Linked DNA regions of Homo sapiens: region 2 is linked to region 1. Evidence: promoter capture Hi-C in human tissues and cell types (Jung and others, 2019). All regions are on one chromosome and are shown on one strand. The core of a region is centred on a gene start or on the middle of the fragment in contact, and the rest is flanking DNA. Distances in the headings are between cores, read along the strand shown. Region 1 holds the start of DNAJB7 (DnaJ heat shock protein family (Hsp40) member B7). Region 2 holds the start of ATF4 (activating transcription factor 4).

Region 1 (7,854 bases), core at 5,355-7,854:
GTGCCACCATGTCTGGCTAATTTTTGTAGAGACGGGGTTTAATCCTGTTGGCCAGGCTGGTCTCGAACTCTTGACCTCAAGTGATCCGCCCACCTCGGCCTCCCAAAGTGTTGGGATTACAGGCATGAGCCACTGCACCTGGCCCTCCTTCAATATTTATATGGCCTTTGCTCTGTGTCAGACTCTGTGTTGGGCCTTAGGAAAACAGAAATGAGATCTTTACCCTCAGAGACATTTGTCTGCTATAATATTTTATACACATACACACACACACACACACACACACACGCACACATATATAATAAAGGTATGAATAAGGAGCTATGAAAACAGAAGAAAGGAACCAAAAAAGGCAGGGGAAGGATATCACAGAGGCAGTTTGAAAGGGTATCACAGAGATAGCATAAAGCTGTGTCCTAAAACTCAGGAAAAGATAATCAACATTTTTTATTGAGAATATGTTAAGCATGAGAAAATATGCACATGCTATCTCATTTAATCTTGGAATGTCAGAGCTAGATAAAATAATTTATGAAAAATGCTTAATCATAGAGTACAACAAATGTTAGTTATTAGCATTAATTAAAAAATTCTTTGCACATGATTGGAACATGCTCAAAGAAAGACACATGAATGACAAGGCTATATGCTGTGGTCTTTAAAGAATGCACAGTCTAGTGGAGGTGAGACAAAATAGAGCATTACAATATTAAATGGTGAATGCAACAGTGGATTCACACATAAGGAGTTTTGTTTGTTGGGTTTTTTTTTTTTTTTTTTGAGACAGGTCTCACTCTGTCGCCCAGGCTGGAGTGTAGTGGCATGATCATAGCTCACTGCAGCTTTGTTCCTCTGGGCTTAGGCAATAAATGAAATGAAACAATAGATCTAGAAAGTCTTCATGGTATAAATGCACTTATCCATCTCCAACAGTTTGGATGCTTTAGAAAAATGCAAACTAATATTTCCTTCCTTCTCTCCTTCAATATTTATTCATTTATTTATTTTTAAGACAGAGTCTCACTCTGTTGCCCAGGCTGGAGTCAGTGGCTCAGCCTCCCAAGTAGCTGGGACTACAGGTATGTGCCACCAAGACTGGTTAATTTTTTTTATTTTTGGTAGAGATGAGGTCTCACTATGTTGCCCAGGTTGGAAACCCACACCAATTTCTTTGTAATCATCTTAGAAGCTATGATTTTTCTTTTTTTTAAATCTTTTTAGAAGAAGCTATGATTTTTCTAAACAATCTTCTACAAACTGGAATTAACTTTTAAGACTCTTCTCTCCCAAATACATATATTATTATTCATAATTCATAGTCCTTACAGAAATTGTATGTTCACAAGGAGATTGTACAGTATTGATTGTTGAGATTAAACAGAGAGGACCTAGTGAGCGGCAAGGGGGAGGGATAAGAGCAAAGATTATGAAGTCAAATAAACCTGAGTTTGAATCTCAGCTTCTCTGGTACTAAGTGTGTAACCTTGTCCAGATTACTTCTCTGAGTCTGATTCTGTGTTTGTAAAATAATGATGATAATGCCTACCTCACGTGACAGTTAAAAATCTAACTCCTTAATTTAGAATACAAAGCCTTCAAAGCTATCTTACCTTCCTAATCTTTTCATCTCCCTCCAGCAGCACTAACCCACTGGTGGAGTAGGCTGCTGTTGCATTGGTGATTTCTCTTTCTCTCCTCCTGCACCTTCTCCACATGCACGCTCGTGCACACGTACTCATGCACACATAGTGTCTTCTGTAATCTCATTAGGCAGTAAAATTTCAGAATATAAAAAGTTAACTGATTCCTTTTTCAATGCTCATATGAAATAATCCTAGCATATTTTGGACCACTCTCAAGCAGAGGGAGCTTAACTTTATTAAATTCAAAGCAAACAAGTAACACTTTAACAGGAGACATAAATTAAGATGTTTATTCCCAGTAAATTTTTAAAAAAGGTCTCAATAGCTTTTTACTTACATTAAACATCTTTTGCCCGAAGTCATATAATTAGTAGCAAAGCTGGTGTGTTAAGTCCTATTTCAAAAATATCCAGTTCATAAGCTTCAAACTCTTTTGCTTAGGAAACTTCATGATTTGGATCCTGCTCCCTTATCTGACCTAATCCTCAAAAAACATTATTGCAGCCACACTAAGCTACTTGAAGAACCCCGGCTAAATCATTCTGCATCATAATAGCATTTGCATTAAAAAATATAGTTCTCTTAGTCTAAAGTGGACACTGCCTGCTTATACGATTACAGAAATTCTAAAAAATACCAGCTCAAACATCACTTACGCAAGAGACTTCTCTTACTCTTCTCACACCTACTGCCTCTGTTCTGCTTGTTTCAGATGTCTTCCCCAACGCTCCTATGATTTCTATTTTAATACCTACTACACTTCACATAATTGCTAATTAGTTTGCCAGTCTACTATGAACAATCTTTGGAAGCAGAGATCACTTGTTATTTGACTTTATTTTCCCAGTGACTTGATTTGAAATGTATTTTGAAGTTAAAAGTCAATGAGTCTGGCTTCTAATTGGACATAAGAAATAAAGAAAAAAGAGGAATTAAGAATAATTCTTGATTTTTGACTTGAACAAGTGAATAAATGGTTGTACCACTACATGCAACAGGAAAGCCTGAGATATTTATTGGAAATAAATTTAATGGAGAGGTCAAAGAGCAATCTTAATTTCAGGGAGAAAAGTGCTAGGCTAGATATATAAATTAGGGTGTTATAAGCACACAGATGGCATCTAAAGCCCTGGGAATGGGTATTACCCAGGGAGACTGAACAAAGCCTGGCACTGTAATATTTTAGTGTGAGAAAGAGCACAGGAGAAAGAAGGAAAACTAGAAGAGTACAGTATTTAGTGCTGGGCATGGTGGCTCATGCTTGTAATCCCAGCACTTTGGGAGGCCGAGGCAGGCAGACAGATCACTTGAGGCCAGGAGTTCGGGACCAGCCTGGCCAACATGGCTAAACCCTGTCTCTACCCGCTGCCCCCCCGCCCCCCACAAAAAAAGAGTGTGGTATTTAGGAAGTTAAAAAACAAGTGTTTTAAGAAGTGGGGAGGACTATGCCAGGCGCAGTGGCTCACACCTGTAATCCCAGCACTTTGGGAGGCCGAGGCAAGTGGATCACCTGAGGTCGGGAGTTCGAGACCAGCCTGACCAACATGGAGAAACCCTGTCTCTACTAAAAATACAAAATTAGCCAGGCATGGTGGCACATGCCTGTAATCCCAGCTACTCGGGAGGCTGAAGCAGGAGAATGGCTTGAACCTGGGAAGTAGAGGTTGCAGTGAGCCGAGATCACACCACTGTACTCTAGCCTGGGCAACGAGAGTGAAACTCCATCTCAAAAAAAAAAAAAAAAAAAAGTGAGGAGGGCTCACAGTGTGGCAAGTGCTTCAAAATACAAGGAAGCCAAAAGGACAACCACTGGATATGGTAACATCAATCACTGGAGACCCTGGCGATTTTAGCAGAGTAAAGAAGACAGAAGACAGATTGGAGTATGCCAAGGAGGGAATAGGATGTAAGAAAGCAAAGACACTGAGACAATACTCTGGATAAGTTTTGTTGTGAAGAGGCAGAGAAAATGGCACAGCGGATGGCTGGGAGGCAAAGGATCAACAAAGAAGGGTATAACTGCAGAAACAAGTGCTCGTATTATAACTTTACACTCCACTGAAATTAGTTTTTTCAAACTATATGAATTTCTTAAGAGCAGAATTTCCTATTTTCTACCTTTTCTCTGTATCATAGTGTCAGAGGCGTTTGAACCAGAGCAACTCCATCTTCAGTAGGGGTTTGGTAAAATAAGGCTAAGACCTACTGGGCTACATTCCCAGTAAGTTAAGGCAGTCTTAATCACAGAATGAAATAGGAAGTCAGCACAAAATGCAGGACACAAAAACCCTGCTAATAAAACAGGTAGGTTATAGTAAAGAAGCTGACCAGCTGGGTGCGGTGGCTCATGCCTGTAATCCCAGCGCTTTGGGAGGCTGAGGCGGGCAGATCACCTGAGGTTGGGAGTTCGAGATCAGCCTGACCAACATGGAGAAACCCCCTCTCTACTAAAAATACAAAATTAGCCGGGCGTGGTGGTGCATGCCTGTAATCCCAGCTACTCAGCGGGCTGAGGCAGGAGAATGGCTTGAACCCGGGAGGTAGATGTTGCAGTGAGCCAAGACCCCACCATTGCACTCCAGCCTGGGCAATAAGAGCGAAACTCCACCTCAAATAATAATAATAGTAACAATAATAATGAAAATAAAATAAGTCCCTGTCAAATTTAGACACTGCGAACATCTTCTCCTAGACTGTCACCTTCCTGTGAGCTTTACCTGTGATGTTCTTAAAAAAAGGAGCTGGCCAAACCCCACTAAAACTAAGATGGCAATGACAGTAACCTCTGATTGTCCTCACTGCTACACTCCCACCAGCACCCCAAGAGTTTACAGATGCCATGGCAACGTCAGGAAGTTACCCTATATGGTCTGAAATGGGGAAGCATGAATAATCCACTTCCTGTTTAGGATATAATCAAGAAATAACCATAAAAATGGGCAACCAGCAGCCCTTGGGGCTGCTCTGCCTATGGAGTAGCCATTCTTTATTCCTTTACTTTCTTAATAAACTTGCTTTTACTTTACTCTGTGGATTCCACTGAAATTCTTTCTTGCACGAGATCCAAGAACCATCTCTTGGGGTCTGGATTGGGACCCCTTTCCGGTAACAGCAGGTTCTCAGTATCTGTTTGTGGAATGCCTAGAACCTAAACTCTTTAAGTCCTAGTCCGAGAAATGCAGTAGAGTGGAATGAGAACTTGAAATTAGACTCAAGTTTAAAAATCAGATTTTTCACTAACAAGCTATGTAGCCTTAGACAAATTACTTTCTCTCTCAGAACGTCTGTTTTCTTATGGGCATAAAATATTTATTTTGCTAGAGTGCTGTGTCAGTTAAATGAGCACTTGCTACAGTGTGACTCAGAGGGTACTCAAATAATTTTCGACATTATTGGTTATTATTTCCAGTGGTAGGCAAATTATAATCATGGGTAAGCCACACATAAGTACATGTAAGCACATACACTGGAGAGAATTTAAATTGAGTTTTAAGCATTTCACAATACCTCTAAAAAATGAGTATATATAAAAATGCAAAGCAAAAAAATATTCAGACCTGACAAATGGTCTTGAAAGACTAGAAGCATACACTACAGTTTTAGATTTCATTAGCGTATCATTTAACTGAGGGGTTATAAATGTGATGGAAAATAAAATAAACACAACATAGAGGAGGAAAAACAAAGATTACAGGGAATTTTCTCAGACAATAAAATGAGCCAGGTATAGAATATAAGACCTTTAAATTCGGGTCTAGACTACTGGTAGTTTATCCCCAAAGAAAATCACCTTTGGTCTGTTTCTAATTTGGCTCTCGAATTCTACTTTCCCATACATGACTGAATTTCCAAATAGTAGCCACTGATCCATTACAAATGTAAATCACATCATTAAACTTGCATATTCCCCACTCCCCACAAAGGCTTCCCACTGTACTTGAAATAAGTGCTAGCTTTATGTCCAACAGCCCCAACTGGCAACAACCAAAATGTCCATCAACATGGCCAGTGGCTACCATATTAGATCACTATGTGGCTGACTGTCATATAGGTCTCAGCAATAATGTCATCTCCTCAGAAGCCTTCTAAAACCAATCTAAAGTAGCGCTCTGCCCCCAGCACATTGCTATTTTTTTTGGAGCACATATCGCATTATCTTAAATTATTTTATTTGTTCTCCTATTTGTATTCTATTATAATGCAAGCACCAGGAAAACTGGTGTCTTTTGTTCAATACTGCTATCACCAGTGGCTAAAACGGTGCCTGGCACAAAGTAGACAATCAATAATTATACAGTGAATACATAAACACACAACTTTCCAAATCTTTAATTACATGTTTTACAGCAGTAAACCTTGGGTGGACAAAGATACTATAATCTCAAATGACTTACCACTGGCATGCAGAAAGTTAACATATCAGGCTACTTCCTCCAAGAGGCTTTCATTGACACCCCCAGCCTGAGCTGTCTCTCATATAATTGTTTAGCATCCAGTACTTCCTCTCATCATAACTATTATATTGTAACTAAGTTACTTGTTTGTATCTCCCTCTGAACTGTTTCTTGACTGAAATAAATATGTCAACTGTTTGAATACTTTCTTCACCCGTAAGTCAGTACTTCATTTTTCTAAACCAAAGCATAGAAGAGCTGGGAAGCAATTAAGGCGCAGTAATCTAGAGGTCATATTATGCAAGGGATATGCTGTGGCTATTAGCAACAGATTCCATTGGCTTATGAGGCACTGCCTGAAGCTTCCAGGGAAACATACAGGGGAAACAGTCCAGAGGATTCAGGATGGTCTGGTACGACTCTGGACTAGCTCTATTTGGAAGGTCCAGTCCCTACACTGACCCCAGAATGACACCATAATGCAGCCCTCTCTGACATATTTGTAACTCTGCTTGCCACATAATCAGTATCCTCATCTCTTAGCACATGGTAATAACATTGTCTTTAACATAAAAGTGTACCTATTTGCAGTCACTACCTCTATCACCACCACCAGCAGAGCCTGAGCTGAGGAAACCACGGTTCTCAATACCCAGCACACCCACTTCCAACTATCTGTTAAAACATGGTGGATTACTATGAAGTTCTAGGACTGCAAAGATATGCTTCACCTGAGGACATTAAAAAAGCTTATCATAAAGTGGCACTTAAATGGCACCCTGATAAAAATCCAGAAAATAAAGAAGAAGCAGAGAGAAAATTCAAAGAAGTAGCTGAGGCATACGAGGTATTATCAAATGATGAGAAACGGGACATTTATGATAAATATGGCACAGAAGGATTAAACGGAGGTGGAAGTCATTTTGATGATGAATGTGAGTACGGCTTCACATTCCATAAGCCAGATGATGTTTTTAAAGAAATTTTTCATGAAAGGGATCCATTTTCTTTTCACTTCTTTGAAGACTCGCTTGAGGACCTGTTAAATCGTCCAGGAAGCTCCTATGGAAACAGAAACAGAGATGCAGGATACTTTTTCTCCACTGCCAGTGAATATCCAATTTTTGAGAAATTTTCTTCATATGATACAGGATATACATCACAGGGTTCATTGGGGCATGAAGGCCTTACTTCTTTCTCTTCCCTGGCTTTTGATAATAGTGGGATGGACAACTACATATCTGTTACAACTTCAGACAAAATCGTTAATGGCAGAAATATTAATACAAAGAAAATTATTGAAAGTGATCAAGAAAGAGAAGCTGAAGATAATGGAGAGTTGACATTTTTTCTTGTAAATAGTGTGGCCAATGAAGAGGGCTTTGCAAAAGAATGCAGCTGGAGAACACAGTCATTCAACAACTATTCACCAAATTCTCACAGCTCCAAACATGTATCTCAATATACTTTCGTGGACAATGATGAGGGAGGTATATCTTGGGTTACCAGCAACAGAGATCCCCCTATTTTCTCAGCAGGAGTCAAAGAGGGTGGTAAGAGGAAAAAAAAGAAGCGTAAAGAGGTGCAAAAGAAGTCTACCAAAAGGAATTGTTAAATTGACTCTTCAAATATATAACATTTGAACACAATTGTGTGTGTTTTGGTTAATCACAAATTTTGTAGATAACACTTAATACTATACTAAGAGCTTTTCAACACTTTTAGCAGGATTGTGGACATTTGGTTAGTAGTTTTTTTGAATGGGTATGTCAGAAAAGGATGAGTTTGTGGTGACAGTTGGTGCTAATAAGAATTTG
Region 2 (7,526 bases), core at 695-3,194, 1.3 Mb after region 1:
GTAGCACTGGAGGAGAGAGGGTTTGTCCCCATGGGGGGCCGAAGAGGTGCTGTGATGGCCAGGACCTGGTGACCAACAGGGCCCAAATAAGAGGACACTGAGGCCAGACATAGTGGTTCACACATGTAATCCCAGCACTGTGGGAGGCTGAGGCAGGTGGATCACCTGAGGTCAGGAATTCAAGACCAGCCTGGCCAACATGGCAAAATTCCATCTCTACAAAAAAAATACAATAATTAGCTGGGCATGGTGGTGTGCACTCATGGTCCCAGCTGCTTGTGGGGAAAAGGGCTGGGGTGGGAAGATCACTGGGACCCGAGAGGCAGAGGCTGCAGTGAGCCAAGATGGCGTTACTGCACCTCAGCCTGGGTGACAGCAAGACCCTGTCTCAAAAAAAGAGGACACTGAGTTGTCACTTCAACCCAGGGCCGACAGGACAAAGCAGGAGGCCTCCCTCAGTCTAGACATCATGGATGGGTATGAAAGCACCGGAAGCGTCACAGGTGGTTTGGGGAAGCAGGGTTTGAGGAAGCCACCCCATGACCCAGAGGAGGGCCCCAGCCATGGCTTCCTGTGTCTTCCACAGTGGGATGGGCTGCTCAAGCCCCCACACTCTCTGGCCCTCTTTGCTACTAGAGGAGTTGGCCAAGGGGGCCAGGCAGGAGTGGGCCAGGACTGCAACATGGGACTCTGCTGAGGCCCAGCTGCAGGCTCAGAGCTTAGCCTGGGCAAAGGCCTCCGCCACAGGCAGTGGGACTGTGGCACTTGGTGTGTGCCCCATTCTTTCCTGCCAGGCTGACTTTTTTTTTTTTTTTTTTTTTTTTGAGACGGAGTTTCGCTCTGTCCCCCAGGCTGGAGTGCAGTGGCGCCATCTCAGCTCACTGCAAGCTCCGCCTCCTGGGTTCAAGCCATTCTCCTGCCTCAGCCTCCTGAGTAGCTGGGACCACAGGCACCCACCACCACACCTAATTTTTTTTGTATTTTTAGTAGAGACGGGGTTTCACCATGTTAGCCAGGATGGTCTCGATCTCCTGACCTCGTGATCCGCCCACCTCGGCCTCCAAAAGTGCTGGGATTACAGGCGTGAGCCACCGCGCCCAGCCTGCCCGGCTGACTTTCATGGGGTGTTCTCATTCTCTGTCCACAACTCTCCCCACCCCTCAAAGCCCAGCTGGGAGGCCCTGCTCTCTCTTCTGAAGCTGCCACTTTCTACTTGGTCTAAGCATCCACCTTCCGTTTCCCAACTAGGCTGAGAGCCCCCACCCCACCTCATGGGGCACCTGGGCAAGGGTGGTTGGCACTTGAGTGTCACTGCAAGGGCTTTTTCTTTTTTCTTTTTTTTTTTTGAGATGGGAGTCTTACTCTGTCACTCAGGTTGGAGTGCAGTGGCGTGATCTTGGCTCACTGCAACCTCTGCCTCCTGGGTTCAAACGATTCTCCTGCCTCAGCCTCCCGAGTAGCTGGGATTACAGGCACGTGCCGCCATGCCCAGCTAATTTTTTAGTAGAGATAGGGGTTTCACCATATTGGGCAGGCTGTTCTTGAACTCCTGACCTTGTGATCCACCTGCCTTGGCCTCCCAAAGCCAGGGACTTTTTATTTCTCCCTGGCCTCTTTGAAATAAAATCATGCTCTTCCCATGGTTTTCCCCATCTCAGGAAATGGGCCCTCCATCCTTTCTCTTGTTTGGCAGCGGGGGGGTTCCCTCTCTTCACACCCATATCCTGGCCGCCTCTCCTTGCCAATCCCAGCCCAGTCCCCTGCCGGGCTGACCCCTGCAACTCCCTAAGCACCAGTCTTAAGGAGCATGCCCAGCATGTCCAAGCCCTACCCAGCTGCTGTGTCACATCTGAATGTGACACGTCACCTCTTTCTTCTTTTTAGGGTCCACCTGTCTCCTTTACCAGAAGCAAAGCTCCATGAGGGCAGGGATGTTTATCTATTTGGCTCACTGCTGTAGCCAGCACCCAGACAGTGTAGTGCAGAGCAGGCACCCACTCAGGACTAGTTGTAGAAAAGATGAAGGTCGTTCTCTGCTCTCCACAACCTACAGCCTTGTCCCAGACACAAAGCAGGAGAAAATGCTGAGTGCTGTCTGCTCCCGCCTGTGAGGTCCCTTCCTATCCCCCAGCCCCGGGCCCCTGGTCACTGGGTAAAGCCCAGCTCCACCTCTGACCTGGTCAGCCTAGGCTGGGCTGGCCAAGGCCTGGCAGGGGCCACAAGTTGCCACATGCAGGGTGGTGGCCAGACATCAACTTCATCTCTGCCCCCTCTTCCCGTACCCCTTATTGTGCTGGGCTCTCCGGAACAGATATCTGCCTAGCCAAATCCAGCCGGTCTGTCCAGGCCACTATCACTGCCTATACCACCTGCCCATGGGCCAGTGTCCACCCATAGGCCAGACTTCCCAAGGGGGTGCCTAAGTCTGGGTCTTAGCTGCATCAGTAAGAGGGTTACAGTCATAAGACCCTCCTCACAGCCTCTCAGGAGGACTCTGAGCTCATCACTGGAAGGCGCCTAGAACCTCAGAGCTCTTTGAACATTTTCGCTGCAGTCATTTTTGCTATTTCCCAGGCACTGCTGTAAGTCCTGGAAATACGGGAATGAACAAGACAGCAAAATACCTGCTGCCATAGAGTGAGCTTATATTGTAGTTAGGGAATGGAGAACAGAAAGTTCATCTGTATACAGATAAACTCAATGGAGAAAAAAGTTACAAAAAAACAGCAAGTGCAAGGCTCTGAGGCAGGACCAAGCTTGGCAGACAGATGGAGAGAGGCCGGGAGCACAGTGAGGGGAGGAGGTGAGGTCAGGGAGAAGGGCAAATCCACTGTGACCTGAGCTGGTGCCTTCTGGGTGTGGGAGGACTTAGCTGCAGGGGCCTGGGAAGGGCACAGCCCCAGCATCCTGGCTCCACACCACTGGCCTGCACTGCCCTTCTTGGTGCCTCAGTTTCTCGTCTGCCAAATGAGGGCCGACCCCCACTGGCACTGGATGACTCTGATGCTCCTGGCCACACCCTAACACCTATTTAGTACCTGGATGTGGATGGAGGCCCATGGCCTTTGGAGAATTCTAGAATCTCAACAGGAAAGACCTCAAAGAGCACCAGGTCCAAGACCCATGTGTGATGCCCACTCCCAGTGGTGCCTCGGGCCACTTCTCCACAACCAGCTGCATGCATTCCATCAACAGTTGGCTCTCAGGTGACAGTCTATGCTGGGCACCAGAAAGGTCACGTGGGCCCCACCATGCAGGTCGTTACGGGCCATTTGTTTCCAGCTCAAGAGGCAAAATGAAGAGCCCAGACTGGAGCCGTCCTGGGTTCAAATCCCAGCTCTACCTCTTTGCTCAAAATCCTCCTAGGTGAGCTGGGCGTGGTGGCGGGCGTCTGTAATCCCAGCTACTCAGGAGGCGGAGGCAGGAGAATCGTTGGAATCCGGGAGGTGGAGGTTGTGGTGACCCGAGAATGCACCATTGCACTCTAGCCTGGACAACGGAGAGACCCTGTCTCAAAAAAAAAAAAAAAAAAAAAAAAAAAGGCCGGGCGCGGTGGCGGTGGCTCACGCCTGTAATCCCAGCACTTTGGGAGGCCGAGGCGGGCGGATCACGAAGTCAGGAGATGGAGATCAAGACCATCCTGGCTAACACGGTGAAACCCCCTCTCTACTAAAAATACAAAAATAATTAGCTGGGCGTGGTGGCAGGCGCCTGTAGTCCCAGCTACCCGGCAGGCTGAGGCAGGAGAATGGCGTGAACCCGGGAAGCGGAGCTTGCAGTGAGCCGCGATCGCGCCACTGCACTCCAGCCTGGGCGACAGAGCCAGACTCCATCTCAAAAAAAAAAAATTCCTCCTGGGTGTGGCGTCTGCCTCACGGGTGTGCTGCGGGGACTGGGTGAAAGAACACATGTGCTGTGCTCAGTTACAGCAGTGCCTGGGCTGCACTCACTCTCACTCTCCTCCCAGCCATTCCCCAGGCACACCCGGTCTACACCACCTTCCACAGACGGAAAACGAGGCTAATCCCGAAGGACACAAGAGGAAGGGCAGACCTACCCGGGCTGCGCTGATCTTTGCATTCAAGCATTCATCCGCAACACAGGACAAAAGACATCGCCTGCCTGGAAAGGCGAAGTCGCCCCGCCAGAAGTCCGAAGCTGCAGTGAGGTGTGGCTTCTAAGCACTGATCCATCCTAACATGTCCCGAGGCCGTCAGGCCTCCTAGTTTAGATAGCAGCAGGCACAACAGCCTTCACAGGAACTGTTGCCTGCCTTTGTGCCCAGCTCTAGCCAGAACCTGCGCAGGCTGTCATCCTTCCACCCCGTAAGGAGAAACGGAGGCCAACCCTCAGCTCCTGTCCTGTTTCAGCATCAATTCCCAAAAGGAGCCATTTCTTTCTTCAGGATGAGGCTTCTGCAGAACTGTTCAGGTAACAAGTGAAACCTAATCTTGTGTGCTATCTCAAAGACCGTGCAACCTTATTCAGGGTTTTATGCGACAGCTGTTGGCATGAAGCCCTCTTGAATAAACAGGTGGAGGCCCAGGCTGTCCCTCCCTCTGAATCTCCCAGAGATCTCCAGCCTCCTCCCCCTACACAACCAGCACTCAGCTCTGGGCAAAGGACCCAGCTTACTATAAATGGCCAACTATACGGCTCCAGGGCCCCATGAATCAGCCATCGTGGCCTACACCGAGCAGGGATGAGCAAATCCCACTCTGGGAACCGATCTTCAGCCTTGGACTGCCTCCTCCCCCAGATCTCACAGGAAATGTTAAGACCAGCTTGGGGTGGGTGGGTGGCGCTTCACTCGGTTACTTTGCCAGGAAAGGAATTCAAACGCACAAGTACTTTCCCTACAAAATAATTTATTGGAACACACAGCTACAGCACTCTATGTACAAGCACATTGACGCTCCTGACTATCCTCAACTAGGGGACCCTTTTCTTCCCCCTTGCCTTGCGGACCTCTTCTATCAAATCTTTCAGGTACTGGATCTCCTTGGCCAGGGAATCCGCCCTCTCTTTTAGAGCCTCGTTCTTCTTTTCCAGCTCTTTGCACTCACCAGTAAGAGCCTCCTGCTCCGCCCTCTTCTTCTGGCGGTACCTAGTGGCTGCTGTCTTGTTTTGCTCCATTTTTTTCAGCTTCTTATCCAGTTTCTCACCCTTTACTTTTGCTGCTACCATCTTCTCTCCAGGAGGATCGTAAGGTTTGGGACGGGCAGACCCACAGAGAACACCTGGAGATGGGAGGCTCCTATTTGGAGAGCCCCTGGTAGAGGGGCTGTGCTGAGGAGACCCCAGATAGGACTCTGGGCTCATACAGATGCCACTATCATTATCTGAAGGGGTGTCTTCCTCCTTTATGCACTGAGGGATCATGGCAACGTAAGCAGTGTAGTCTGGCTTCCTATCTCCTTCAGTGATATCCACTTCACTGCCCAGCTCTAAACTAAAGGAATGATCTGGAGTGGAGGACAGGACCCCTGGGGAAAGGGGAAGAGGTTGTAAGAAGGTGAAGGGGGCAACCTGGTCGGGTTTTGTTAAACTTTCTGGGAGATGGCCAATTGGGTTCACCGTCTGGGGGGGCTGCTTATTAGTCTCCTGGACTAGGGGGGCAAAGAGATCACAAGTGTCATCCAACGTGGTCAGAAGGTCATCTGGCATGGTTTCCAGGTCATCTATACCCAACAGGGCATCCAAGTCGAACTCCTTCAAATCCATTTTCTCCAACATCCAATCTGTCCCGGAGAAGGCATCCTCTGCAAAACATTTGAGTGATGGGGCCAAGTGAGTCAGATACAAAGGTAGGAGGCCCCTAACCCTAGATCCCACCAGGACGATGTGGTGGTGGCCCACTCACCCTTGCTGTTGTTGGAGGGACTGACCAACCCATCCACAGCCAGCCATTCGGAGGAGCCCGCCTTAGCCTTGTCGCTGGAGAACCCATGAGGTTTGAAGTGCTTGGCCACCTCCAGGTAATCATCTAAGAGACCTAGGCTTTCTTCAGCCCCCAAACCCGACTGGTCGAAGGGGGACATCAAGTCCCCCACCAACACCTCGCTGCTCAGGAAGCTCATTTCGGTCATGTTGCGGTGCTTTGCTGGAATCGAGGAATGTGCTTAATTCGAAGGTGTCTTTGTCGGTTACAGCAACGCTGCTGCTGAATGCCGTGAGAAGCCTGAATGAGAATCAGAAGCCAACTCCCATTAGAGGTTAGCTGTTCTGAGAATTTCATCCTTCCACTTATGAGGCGGGACTTCTCTAGATCGGCCATCTAGAGAATCGGGAACAGGGCAGTTGTATTTGCCCCTCCCTGCTTGCAACTCAGGTTCCACAAAATGGACGCTCACGGAGACCAGGGGATTCTTCCACCGGCCGCCAAGAGGAAAGCGCTCCGTCCCCACGTCCAAATACGGCCAGGGCGGCCGCGCCCCGCCCACCGCCCGCCCTTGACTCACGCCCGCGCCGCCGCCCTGCCGCCGCCATCTTGGTTCCTGCCACGTTTCGTGGGGCAACAGCCAAGACCCCTGGGACCCTTGCGGGGCTCGGGGTCCGAGGGCTGTAGGGCTCCTGGGGAAGCAGTCCGGGCACCCGACTACGCTTTCCCGATCCCAGGCACGCGAGCGTCTCGGGGACACCCAAGCAAAGACCACGCGTCCCGGGCGCTCGTTAAATCGCTTCCCCCTTGGCGGCACCGCCCTGGCCCCAGGCCGCACCCCACCAATCCAAAACCCGCGCCGGCCCCAGGAGCACAGCTGGACGACCCGCCCCGGTACTCACGCCATGGCTTAAGCCGCTGGGGGTTGCCGCTGCAGAGCCTGGTGCTGCTGCCGCCGCTGCAAAGGCCAATGCTGCCGCAGGCACTGCTGCCCCTAATACGCCATGGTGGCCGTGGACCCTGAGGGCGGGGAGGAGGGAAAACGCACACGCGCAGAGAAAACTACATCTGTGGGCGGGCAAAGTAGAAATGGCTGCCGTGGCCGCCCGCCGGCCCTTTATAGACTTCGTCTCTATGGGGACGCAGCACAGACGCATCCTTCCGCCGCGACCACGTGACCGTCTCCTCCCGCCCGCTCCCTTCCCTCCCTCCCTTTGACGCCCCAACCGTTTATGCCCAGGGCGTAGCTGTGACGAGAAAAGGAGTTTGTTCTTATGGCCTCACGAAAGGAGAGAGGTGTACTACTTTACTAGGCTTCTATGATCAGAGTCCGTTCTTTCCTTCGCCGCCGGAGCGCGGAGTGATCTCCCAGACACGCCTCGCTTCCGGTGTCAGCGCAGTGGGCGGGGAAAGGTCGTTTTCCGGCGAAGAGTTTTTATTGTGAAGGCCGAGGACGCCAGGTTATCGCGCGAGGTGCTGGCGAAGAGCGCGCGTCAAGGTGATTGGCCCAGGCCCGGTGAATCATATATATCTCGAGCTCTTATTGGCTCAGGGCCCTAGATGGGCGGCTGCTGGGAGAGGGATCCCGGGGTCCGCGTGGGAAGGGTTGGGGTCTCGGGTCGCTGCTAGTCCTCAGCCAGCCCCG

What was found. The method cuts DNA at HindIII sites, captures the fragments that hold promoters and counts their contacts. A contact is called where the count stands out against the background at its distance.
Region 2: a contact is called between a fragment that was not itself captured here and the fragment with the promoter of DNAJB7 in region 1, in 1 of the 25 tissues and cell types used here (dorsolateral prefrontal cortex).

Annotation. Positions count from the first base shown.
Region 1 is chr22:40,860,863-40,868,716 of GRCh38, reverse strand. DNAJB7 (DnaJ heat shock protein family (Hsp40) member B7) reads left to right here and starts at 6,604. Exons shown (of 1, transcript NM_145174.2): 1 at 6,604-7,854. The coding sequence starts at 6,723. The coding sequence ends at 7,652. All of the region lies in intron 1 of XPNPEP3 (X-prolyl aminopeptidase 3), which reads right to left. The HindIII fragment of the contact is 4,259 bases long and covers 4,233-7,854 here.
Region 2 is chr22:39,520,009-39,527,534 of GRCh38, reverse strand. ATF4 (activating transcription factor 4) reads right to left here and starts at 6,973. Exons shown (of 3, transcript NM_182810.3): 1 at 6,784-6,973; 2 at 5,864-6,181; 3 at 4,852-5,762. The coding sequence starts at 6,089. The coding sequence ends at 4,933. RefSeq lists enhancers at 243-452, 2,915-2,964, 3,065-3,114, 3,988-4,489, 4,566-4,615 and 2 more and a silencer at 7,436-7,526. The HindIII fragment of the contact is 7,295 bases long and covers 1-5,591 here.